Regions from separate parts of the Homo sapiens genome. Here regions 1 and 3 are each linked to region 2. Evidence: promoter capture Hi-C in human tissues and cell types (Jung and others, 2019). All regions are on one chromosome and are shown on one strand. The core of a region is centred on a gene start or on the middle of the fragment in contact, and the rest is flanking DNA. Distances in the headings are between cores, read along the strand shown. Region 1 has its middle 5.1 kb from the start of RNF220. Region 2 holds the start of IPO13 (importin 13). Region 3 overlaps ERI3 (ERI1 exoribonuclease family member 3).

Region 1 (3,824 bases), core at 1,030-3,529, 450 kb after region 2:
TGGGGACTGTTGTGGGGTGGGGGGAGGGGGGAGGGATAGCACTGGGAGATATACCTAATGCTAGATGACGAGTTAGTGGGTGCAGCGCACCAGTATGTCACATGTATACATATGTAACTAACCTGCACATTGTGCACATGTACCCTAAAACTTAAAGTATAATAATAATAATAATAATAATAAAAATCTTATCTTTGTCCAAAACACTTAAGGACATCTCAAACCATGATGGTTTCTCTGGCTTTTGAAAACCTGCAACAATTTGCCTGTATTACCCATTTGATATATTTTATCTGCATTATAAAATTGAATTTGGGTTTATTTAACCTTTCTTTTGATTATGAGTTAATGCTACAATTCTACAAGCTTCTTAGGGGATAGGAAGTGCATTTTGTGCCTTTTTGGGGGGATGGGGTGGGCATCTTTTACAGCTTCTTCCTACTGCCTTGATTCATACATAGTATGTAGTCAGTAAATATTTGTTGCTAGATTGCCAGACGGTCAATCTTGGCATTGATATTGGCTGACTGTCTTTGGGAGCTACCTGCAACTACTTCAGAAAGTTTCTTGTTGGAGTCAATATGAAAAATGGAGGATTTATTATTTCTACTGTGAATTTATTTTTTCTTTTTGGGTGATAAAACTGGAAATCTCAAAAAGTCTCCTGGTTTATGTGTTGGGCATAGATGAGGGAGATTCCTTTTGAAAGTGAGTGTAGAAAAGCAGACTTTTTATTTTGTGAAGGTTTTTTGAAGCTTACAAGTCCTTATATATATATTTTAAAAGTCCAGATTGCTCAAACTTGAAGTTCCCCTCCTCCTTGCTCCTCCTTCAGGGCCTTTTTCTAAACCTACTTCCCTTAAAATGACTTTTATTGATTTTCACTCAATGAGAGTTATTCTTCAGAATGAGGATGGAAGGGTCAGAGAGAGAAATTTACCCTGTGTTACCTGTGGAATAGGTGTGCATTTGTATCCAGTCTTGCTTTATTTGTTCTGTTTCCTGTATCCAGAAACCCACACACTGGGGATCATTAGGTCCTCTGTGTCTTGGTCGGAGCTTGAGTACAGTATACTAATAGATCAATTTATGTGTTCATTCATTCAGCAAACATTTATTGAGCAGGCATGTCCTAGGCATTGGAGATACTAAGATGAATAAGACATAGTCACTGCCCTCAGTGACCTCCAGATGTACAAGAAGACACCAGCCTGAAGGCAGCTGGGGTCAGGGAACAAGGCAACTGAATATCCTCCATCAGGAAATCCTAAGAGAATAAAAAGACCAGTCTTGTAACATAAATATAAACATCTAATCAAATTAGCCAATTAGAAAAACATTTTTAAGAAAAGGCAATCTTTTACCAATTTGTCCTATGTATCTTTTGCATTTTTTCTCCCTAATTTCTTTGTCTCCAGTCTTACTCGTCTCCAGTCTACATTTAAAATTGCCTCCAATTTTATTTTTCTAAACCCTGATCTGATCATGTCATTCCTGTTTTGAGAATTTTCACTCATTCATTCTGCACTTTTTATCAATCACCTACTGGATGTTTCCAGTGAGTGTGAAGTGTTTGGGATGCAGTGGTACGCAAGCAGGCCCTACCTTCAAGAAGCTTTAGAATCTAGACCAGGTAGTACTTTCTGAATCTTGTCCTTTTATCTAAATCAGTTGAGTCCGACAGACACCAGTATCTGTTGTGCTAAGTACCACGCAAAACAACTAAGACAGAATTCTGCTTTAAGCAGATCAGAGTCTATTAGAGGAATCTGAAAACAATCGATAATTCCAGTACAATGTGATAAATGAATAGATGCATGCATAGACTGCTATGATAATCAGATTTGAGGAGAAGAGAGGCTGGTGGGCAGGGTGGCTTCCTGGAAGAGTCCATCCCAAACAAAGTCTTGAAGTATAAATAGGAGTTGGCTAGACACTGGGAGTGTCCAGTTAGTTCCTTAATGTGACAAACAAGATCTTTCACAGTCCATTAATCTATTTTTCCAGTCTCCCCTTATATCTTCTACATCTTTTTTTTCAGCTCCCAGCCCAATTTCTGAATGTTTTTCAAATTAGGAATGAATGCCCCTGGTTTATTTAGTGTTGTGCTTTGGATGTGAGAAAGCACCAAATAAATGTGGTGCATCTTTCTGGAGCATCAGTTCTATCAAATGATAAGTAATTTAAAACATGGTTTTATATTAAAGCTTAATATATTTGTGGAATTGAAGGCAAAATTTTCATTCATTTTTCAAGATAAAACAGGATACATAAATTTCAAGCTAGTGGCAAGCCATTTTAGGCTTGCCCTTAGACATCACCACCTGCACCACCTCTTTCTTGAGGAAAAATTTGAGATGTACTATCGGAATGTGGCAGGAAATTTCATGTGCCTTTGCATACGCTATTTGCTCATCCTGGAGTGCTCTTCCTATTTTTCTCCCTTGATAAACTACTTATCCTTCAAAGCCCAACTTAAGTGTCATTCCATATAACAGTCATTTTTAACGAAGCTTAAATGTCATCCCATATGATAGTTATTTTTTAAAACACCCACTTCTGTCTCTGCCTCCTTTCCTAATAGCTCCAGGCAGACTCAGCACCTCCTTCTTTTGTGTTTCTACCACCCTATACTCAGAATATCCATTATAGCACTGCTTTCATTGTGCCATATGTATTTGCTTTCCAATCCATCTCTGCTGTTGGACTATAAACCTCTCTAGGGCAGGCACTATTATTTATCTTTCTATTCTTAGTGACTGGCACTTGGTAGACACTCAATAAATGTTTGTTGAATTTGTGGACCATTCCTTACTCTGCATCACCTCTGTTCTTATATAAAGTGATATCTCCTTTACTTCTCATCTTCAGGGAATGATGTGTTACACAAAAGTATATTTTCCAGACAACTGAAATTTACTTCTTAAAGTATCAAAATCTTCTGTTTAAATCATTTTGGTAGGAATTTATTTTTCTATATTTTCACACGTGTGCTTACTCTCATAAGTAAAATATACTAAGTGTAATGTGTTCCTTGATGACCTATCCCCAAAAGTATCAGGATATGTTTGGTTGGAATTCATGACATCCGCTGGGAGCACTGATGGGATAGGGCTTTTTGCCTTCACACCAAATAACCCTATTTTGTTGTAGTTTTTGAGTTATGGTGCTTGCTTCTTATAGTTCGGTCACCATTTCTCATTGTCAGTGTTCTTGCTCTAACAACACTACCCTTTGCTCTTTTTATATACGTTTTAACGGATATTAAAATTACAAAACTAATATATGTTCACTGAAAACAAACAGAAGTCTATGGAGTAAAAAGTCAAAGTCCTCCCTTCATTCCTGTCTAACCCCCCACCCTGTCACGTCCACACTTTCACTCCCTAGCCATAACCATTGTTAACGGTTTAATGTATCCCTACAGGCCTTTTTCTGTCAATGTGTGTGTACACGTATACGGACAAATATCAAATCATATTGTACATACTGTTGTATGACTTGCTTTTCTCACTCGACAGTATATAATAGGTATCCTTCTATGTCAATACATCCTAGTCTATATCATTCTTTTTAATGGCTGCCCCCTTTTAATTTGACAATCTTAATCAGCTGTGAATGGGAAAGCCAAATAATCAAGCTTATTAGAATTGTACCTAAGAAAGAATAAATCGGCTCTGAATGAAGGCTTGTGTAATTCTCCTAGGAGGGAAATGTGTTAACTTTAGTGCATGGACTTTGTAATGTTTATTTTGGCTATTCTGGGACCCTTTTTGCTTATTTCCTGCTTCATTGTGTTTTGGATAGCTGAGGTTGCTGGACAT
Region 2 (3,780 bases), core at 165-2,664:
CCCGGCTAATTTTTTGTATTTTTAGTAGAGACGGGGTTTCACCGTGTTAGCCAGGATGGTCTCGATCTCCTGACCTCGTGATCCGCCCGCCTCAGCCTCCCATAGTGCTGGGATTACAGGCGTGAGCCACCGCGCCCGGCCTACTTGCTATTCTTTATTGATGAAGACTTGCTGAATGACTTAGAGTCCTACTGGATTTTGCTTACCAGCTAAATGGGCCCCTCTCCTTCCCAGGCTCTCTATTCTTCAAGCTCAGATCAAGTTTCTCTTCTCAGGGAAGCCTTCATGGACCTTCTCAGGCCTCAGCAGCTGCTGCCAATGCCAGCTTCCAATGCCAGCTTCCTCCATTTGAACAAAACTACGGAGCTCTTTGCACTTTTAATTTTTTCCTCTTCCCTGCTAGGGTAGCTGGCAGGAGTTAATAAACAATAAAATACAACTGGAGGGGTGACAGGCAGGAACTACCGGGGCCTGTGGCAGACCAGATCTATGGCATGGTCTGCCACCCTGTCTGTGTGCCAGGGGCAAGATAAGCCTAACTTTCCCCAAGCTCGATTTCCTCATCTCATCTGAAAATGATGAATAAAAATATCCACCTCAGAGCTATTAAGAAAACTGAACCTAAGGTAAGCAAAGTCCTGCTCCTAGCACTTAAATGTAAGCTACTCTTACTCTAGTTACACATAAAGTTACTTCCAAAAACCTTACGAAATTCCCCGAGCACTGTCCATGGTATGTGGTTTCCCGGTTGCTTATTGGGTGGTCCCGAGAGCCTTCCTTTTTTCCTTCCTGAGGCGTGCCAAGTCCCCTCTCCTCTTCTCTGGGTGGTGCTGACGCCTTCTTCCCAGGCTGCACCTTTGCTGGGCCGGAGGATGCCCCCGGCAGCGGAGCGCCAGAGTGACCAGGCAACCTCCCCAGCCTCCACCCTCTAGCCCGGGCTCCCACCTCCGTCCTCCGGCCCCTCGAGTCACGTCGTCCTACTAAGGAGTTGGGCCGCAGCGCCCCGCGCCGGTCTGACCCGGAATGCCTGCTCGCCGCGGTAGGCCGAGGACAGGCGGGGCTCTGCAGGTCCCCAACCCACGTGCTCCCGGCCTCCTCCGCAGGGCGCCGCCTTCCGGCTAGGCGCAACACGGACTACATTTCCCAGGGTGAACAGCGGCGGGGCCTAGACTCGGCCGCGGCCTGGGGCGGCGAGCCGCTCCACCGCCTGCTCAGGGGAGTGCGAGCTGGCGCGAGGACAGGGCTAAGGACCCGGAATGAGTTTCCGCGCAGTTCCGCTGGGCCGTGCCGGCCTGTACCGGGCCGTGCCGAGCCAGAACTGGCAGGAGTGGGGGCCTGAGTTGGAGGTGCCGGGGACAGGCGCTCGGGGCAGCCCGCGCCTTGCCGAGGTCCCTGCCCCGTCCCGGCCGGCCTGGCTTGTCTTGTCAGTCACTGGGGCGGAGGCAGCGGCTGTAGCGGGGCTGTAGCCGGGCGTTGAGCACAGCGCGGGCCAGGCCGAACGGAAGGGACCTGCCACAGCCCCTCAACTCCACGGACTCTTCGCCCTAGACTAGCGGAGCTGCATCTCCGCGCTTCGTTGGACGCCTCCGTAACCACGAAGGGCTCTCTCTCTCCCGTGACCCTCCAGCCCCATGACCTGTTCATAGCAGCCGAGAGCTCACCCAGGCGGGGGTGTTGTGGGTACAGGCCATCGACCCTGTGACCCCTCAAGAGCCAGGGACTCGGTTTCCCCCGCAGGCCTCCCTCCCCTGTGACTCCCTCCACACAGATTCTGGGGACAGAGCTGTTACCTGCCACTAGGATCCCCGCCTGAGAGCTCCTCACTGACGGCTCCCTCCTCGGAGTCCCCTTCATTGGGTCTCCTAAGAGCACCAATTTTGGTCTCTGGCAAGCCTCCCACCCCCAAACGAGGTGGGGAGGCCTCGGCAGCCATGCCCGCCCTGGGCCCCCCCTCACCCCACCACTCCCTGGGCACCCAAGCCGGGGTCTAGCAGGGGGCCAGCAGCCAAGGGGCTGGGGCAGGAGACAGATCAGGGCCCACCTCCCTGCCAGGGAGGGAGCAAAGATGGAGCGGCGGGAGGAGCAGCCGGGGGCTGCAGGGGCTGGAGCAGCACCAGCCTTGGACTTCACTGTGGAGAACGTGGAGAAGGTATGAGGGCTCTGGGGTGGGCACTCCAGTGACAGAGCAGAAGTTCTGGGGACTGTCACTGATGGCAGAGCTCAGGCCTGGGCTGGGTGCCCGCTGGTATGGTGCCCCCAGAGCACCTGGCATTTGCTCTCTTTCTGGGCAGGCAGTATTGCAGTGCCCTAATGGGCTATTTTTGTCTTTCCTTACAGGCAGGTCCCCTGTGGATAGATACTCTAGGGTCTTGGGATGGTCCCTTCAGGGTGCTGTGACTTAGCCTTCCGTCCAGACTGGCTATGTTCCAGCTCCATGGGAACTGCATGAGCAGTGCAGTAGGAAACTGGGAACCCAGGAGACCTGCAGCTCAGTCTCCTGGAATTATACTGATGCCAAACCATCCTGGACCTGGTTTTGTTGAGCCAAGGGCTCAGAAAATAATCTGGAACTAAAACAATCTGGGTTGTTTTGACTCTTTGGAGAAGGGTCCTTCCTTTATTGGATGGAAGCCAGACCAGTCCTGAGCAGGCAGGCCTGGGGCTGTCTCCCTTTGTTTTGTGCTGAGTCCAAGGGTCCTGGCCCTGCTGGGAGCCTTACAGGGCTCCTCCCTACTCGCCTGCCCACATAGCTCCCTGCCATGGCCCTCCCAGGCTCCCCGACTGCCCAGCCCATCTTTCTGAACTGCCTCTTTGGTTCTTTTCTGTATCTGCTCCCTACAACTTGAAATGCAGGAATGCATGCACCCTGGGATGAATGGGGAGATGGGGCTCCCTTACTTGAAAGCAGGGAATGATGTTCACTTGTTATCCTTAACCCCCGTTTGCCATAACAAACAATGAGGATGCATCTCTTCTGCCTGCTTTGGCGTCCCTGAGGGGCCAAACAAGGGCCAATGGCCATAACTGGCTGTCAGGGGTACAAATAGAGCTAAGCTTACTTGGATGGAGCCTGCTTAGGGGTCAGGGTCCTGGCCATACTCTTCCGCCCCTTGGAGCAGGGCAGTGTTGGCATGGTGGCGCACTGTTCCATGTGCTATTGGGAGATAAATCTCACTGTTTTCTTACTTCATAAAGTCCCGTTGGAATTGAGACCCCGGGGATTCTGCTAGTGGAGAGCACTAAGCTAGGTGTTTGCCAGGGCTGCAGCTATGGCCAAGGCTTCTCTGGATCAATTGGTTGGACATGTGCCCTCTGAGGAGTGTTCTCACCCTCTCCTCCAGCATGTCTGCCCCAGGGCTGCCTGGCAAAAGTCTTAGTCCTGCTCTGATTTCACACTGGCTTTGGTGCCAGCATCTGGACTGACCTAGGGATGATCCTGGGGGAGCTGAAAGGAGCTGTTGGAGTTGATGGGAGCAGCTGTGCCTGGGAGGGTCAAGTCCCCTCAAGCTGTTCCATGCCCTTCTCAGACTTAGCTTCATCCCTGTGAAGCTGTTCCTTCCACCTGGGCCTTGCCCTCAAGTGCCTCCCCTTTGGGGAGATCAGCCTCCTCTTTTTTGCTTTCCTGTGGAGATTCCCTCTCTGAACCCATAATGTTTTGCTGTAAGGAGAAGAGGATATGGTAGAGCATGGGCAAGGTTCAGGCTCTCAAGATATCAGCAGGACCCCAGGCCCAGGAAACACTGCAGAGCGCTGAGCTCTCCCTGCTCAGCCCCCCAGTCA
Region 3 (3,860 bases), core at 174-2,673, 400 kb after region 2:
CACACATTTAATGAGGGAAATAATATGCCTTTATAAAAAGACTCAATCTGTATTTACCTGAGAGACCAAAGAAGCACCAAATCACCAGATTAGAGGAACCACAGAGGAGTCGTTCTGGTGTCTTGGGTAAATAGACATTTTATAGCCTCCATTACTGGAGGGGTGAGCAGAGGGGGTCAACCTTTAACATCCACACACACAGGCCAAGGGAGTCCTCAGGATGGGAAAACAAGAGGAGGCCACTGTGAAACAGGTGGTCTACTCCCACTTCCACCTCCCCAGCCACATGTACTTGGGATCTCTGGGATGGTGTATGTTTATACCACCCCTGGATTCAATTCATTCCATTAAAAGCCAGACTAGGAGGCAGGGATACATCCAAGTAACTCCAAGTTACCTGCAACAGGTTCTGAGTCCAGCTGACTGAAAGCACCTAGGAATACAACAATCATAGCTTCCTCAGTTCTCAGTCCTGGTGTAAGTCCCCAACCCAATCTGACCTGCAGTATCACAAGTGCTCAGGCACCTGAGTCACAGAAACAACAACAAAAAACACAGTAATACCTGTCTGGAACTCAGTCACTGGCTTTGTCTCAAGCAGCTAAAAATAGCCTGGGAAAAAATACAAATAAACTGCATCCCTTCAAAAGTCATAATCTTCAATCTAATGAATATATCCTTACTGCCAGAGCACTCTCTGTGTGAAAAACAAACTGTCAAAGGTGAAAGAAAACCTAAGAGGCAACACAGTCCAACCAGCCAGGGAAAATGAGATTAGAAAGAGAAAAGGACTGCCCAAGGTTCACACTGCAAGAAATAGTAAGAATAGAACCCAGGCTCTCAACTCCAAGGCCAGGGTCTCAGGCTACTGCTCCAACACAAGGAAAAGGCCTCACTAGTCATTTCCCAAGCTATGCAGTCTCACAGAAGAGGCCAAGAGCCTGAGGACTCTGTCTAGTTTGTTGAAGGCTAGAGGTTGAAGACAAAACAAAGCTTGACATGCCCTGGAAGCTCCACATGGTCCCAATGCGGAAAGGAAGCAGGAACTCTAAAACTGAGTCCTCACCTCAACAAAACAGTCTCCTCTTCTCTACACTCAGTCCCTGCCTTGGCCTGTAGCTACAGCTGCTTCTGCTCCAAGGCACAGCTATGGAGAGCTCCCCCAACTCAGAAGCAGCTGCTAATAATCCCAAACTACCAGCAGAGCTAAAATCACTAAAGATCTTCAGGAACACCAAATTCTGAGGGCAACATCATAGGTCACAGCAGGCTTGCTCTCCCCTTCAACTGGTCTGTTTCAGCAGCTCCAAGAAACACATAAAAAGAGGCAATTGTTTGTGATTTGCCTGCTGTTTGCTAACCCAGCAGCCATGCCCAGTAGCTTGGGCAAACTCCTTTCAGCGGCCAAAGCTTGAAGACATCTTTTTGCAAAGTCCTGCAAGTCAGTTGCAACCTCATCACACACGAGAAGGGGCAAAGCCTTGCTTCCTAACACACCATAAATAGACTAGAGATGGATGGAGGGCAGGGTATGGTAGCATCATCCCTTTAAGCACCTCTCACATTTGTAGACAGCATCTGATCCCAGAAGAGAGGTACCCAGAACTGTTAAATACTTCCTATACTCCTGGTCCCAAGATGGGGAACTGCTGTAAAAGCAAGGAGTTATATAATCTAGTGTTAAAACACTGGTAATAGACAAACCTAGGTTCAAATCCTGACTCTACTACAAATTATTTGTAATAATAGCTATAATAATAATAATACCTATGTCTTTGGGATTCAATTCAACCGTGCGATGTACAAAAAGTGCTTTGCACAATAGCAAGCGCTCAATAAAAGGGAGCTGTTACTACATGAGAAAGAGAAAAAGCAAACACCCTTTTCTGAAAATCTACTCCAAGCCAGGCATTGTATCGATGATTTACATATTTTATTTAATCCTCCCAAGTATCAAGCAGAATGGGTAAGAATATTCGCATATCACACATGAGGAAACTAAGGGCTCGGAGGTGCTCAGCTCTTTGGGGCCCTGTTCTCTACCACGTGTGATGGCCCACATTTCCCCACATGACTGATTCCCTCCATCCGACAGAGGACCAACAATGCATATCAACTGCAGTTTTTCTTTTGAGGCAAAGTGTAACTTTAACTAAAAGTAACTCAACCTTAAGCAATAATTAAGTCTATCCAAATCATCCTAACTAGTTTTCATATTTTTTTATATTTAAAAAGAAAAATTACAGGCCTGAGCACAAGAGCAGAATTAAAAGAACGGCAGCACAAGGAACTCGAAGTCTCTTCTCAAACAAAATTCCACAGGAGCAAATCTTTCCATCTTACAGAGTGGAAACTGGCAGGAGGCAGGGTTATAACCAATTCTTACTCAAGTACCCAAATGTGACGTTTCCTTTTACAAATTTGTGCTTTGGCAAACGCTGCTCCCTATTTTGGAATGCACTTCCATTTTTTGCCAGACAAATTATGACTCCTTCCTTAAAATCCAGCTCAAATCTCCCCCCTTTTGGTGGCTTTCTCTGACACTCCATCATAAAGCTAATTGTTTAAGTATGATCCAGTGGCACAGTTTATTCCTACTTCATAACTTTTATCTCACTATGTTGTAAGATATTAGGTATGTTTCTTCTACTACCAGTAATTTTCAAAGAGTTAAGGAAGAAGGATAGAAGACAGCAGTATAGGTGAATGTGTGCATGTGTTAAAAAAAAAAAAAGCATATTTGACATAATTCTTTGACTTGCTTGTTAGACTAATGCATTTCAAAATTTCAAATAGCATTAAAGAAGAGCATGAGATTGTTTTGTTGTGTGTGTGTGTGTGTGTGTGTGTGTTTTAATCTAAACTGTGCTAAGTCTCAGAGTTTTTAAAGCCTGAGAAACACTGAGCTAGATCCCTAAGGGTAAGGACCACATTTTATTCCTCTGTATTCCCAGCACCCAGCACAGGACCAGGCACAAAGTAAGCAAGAGTAAATGTTTGCTAAATGAATTAATATGCCCACAGTCATGATGCCAACTGCTCTGGAATTAGAACATGCTAATTAGAACAGAGCAGGGCCTAAGCAGCAAACAAAGCTTCTTCTCTTCCTTTCTTTATCCTTCCTCCTAGCCCACCCCATTCTGTCCTCCCTAGTTAAAAAGAGCGAAAAAGAGTGAAAGAAAGAGTGAGAGACACAGAGAGACAGACAGGGAGAGAGAGAATTGCCTTGGTGCCGGAATACCATTAAAAGGATTAATTTAGGGACCAGTGTTTGGACTGTCACATCCAATCACTACCCACAGATCTACAGCTTCCCAAATCAGGCTCATGCAAAGAGGAATCAATTGCAAGGACACAGAGGGTCTGAACAGGCATACTAATGGCCTCCTGAGGTGCCAGCGGCCAGCTCTGACACTCCCATAAATTATCCGCCTTTTGATTTTACCTGTAGCTGTGGGGCACAAGGCACAATTTTGAACACATCAAAGCAATCCCTGGTAACCCAAGGCTCCTCAAGGAATGTCCCCAAAGAGGAAAGCCTAAAAACAATGATCCAAAAGGGAGTCTGCTTCCCAACAGTTCTGGTTCTAGCAATCATTAATTAAAACCCAACAGAACCAAATGGATAATGTGGGACCCAAATCAAACCTAGTAGATCTGGACACGGCATGCATCAGACTGCAGTTCTGCAATGACTATGCACCTCTCACTCAAGGAAAGTGAAATCACAGCAATAAACTAACACACTTTCATCTGGATGGCAAATCTGCCCTAGCTTTGACAGTACCTCGCAGCAGGACCTCAGGCAACTCATTTAACCTTTCTAGGCCTCAGTTTCTTCATATGGTATCAAGGACAAG

Evidence for each region. The method cuts DNA at HindIII sites, captures the fragments that hold promoters and counts their contacts. A contact is called where the count stands out against the background at its distance.
Region 1: a fragment that was not itself captured here is called in contact with the fragment with the promoter of IPO13 in region 2 in 2 of the 25 tissues and cell types used here (adrenal gland and aorta).
Region 3: a fragment that was not itself captured here is called in contact with the fragment with the promoter of IPO13 in region 2 in 1 of the 25 tissues and cell types used here (hippocampus).

The regions. Positions count from the first base shown.
Region 1 is chr1:44,398,284-44,402,107 of GRCh38, forward strand. No RefSeq gene overlaps it. Among named protein-coding and RNA genes, the nearest start is that of RNF220, 5.1 kb to the right of the region's middle. The HindIII fragment of the contact is 5,699 bases long and covers 1-3,824 here.
Region 2 is chr1:43,945,536-43,949,315 of GRCh38, forward strand. IPO13 (importin 13) reads left to right here and starts at 1,415. Exons shown (of 20, transcript NM_014652.4): 1 at 1,415-2,149. The coding sequence starts at 2,066. LOC101929609 (a long non-coding RNA gene) reads right to left here and starts at 1,064. Exons shown (of 2, transcript NR_188535.1): 1 at 946-1,064. RefSeq lists a silencer at 1,211-1,460. The HindIII fragment of the contact is 10,546 bases long and covers 1-3,780 here.
Region 3 is chr1:44,345,055-44,348,914 of GRCh38, forward strand. The region is part of intron 2 of ERI3 (ERI1 exoribonuclease family member 3); the gene reads right to left. Among named protein-coding and RNA genes, the nearest start is that of ERI3, 8.3 kb to the right of the region's middle. The HindIII fragment of the contact is 5,311 bases long and covers 1-3,860 here.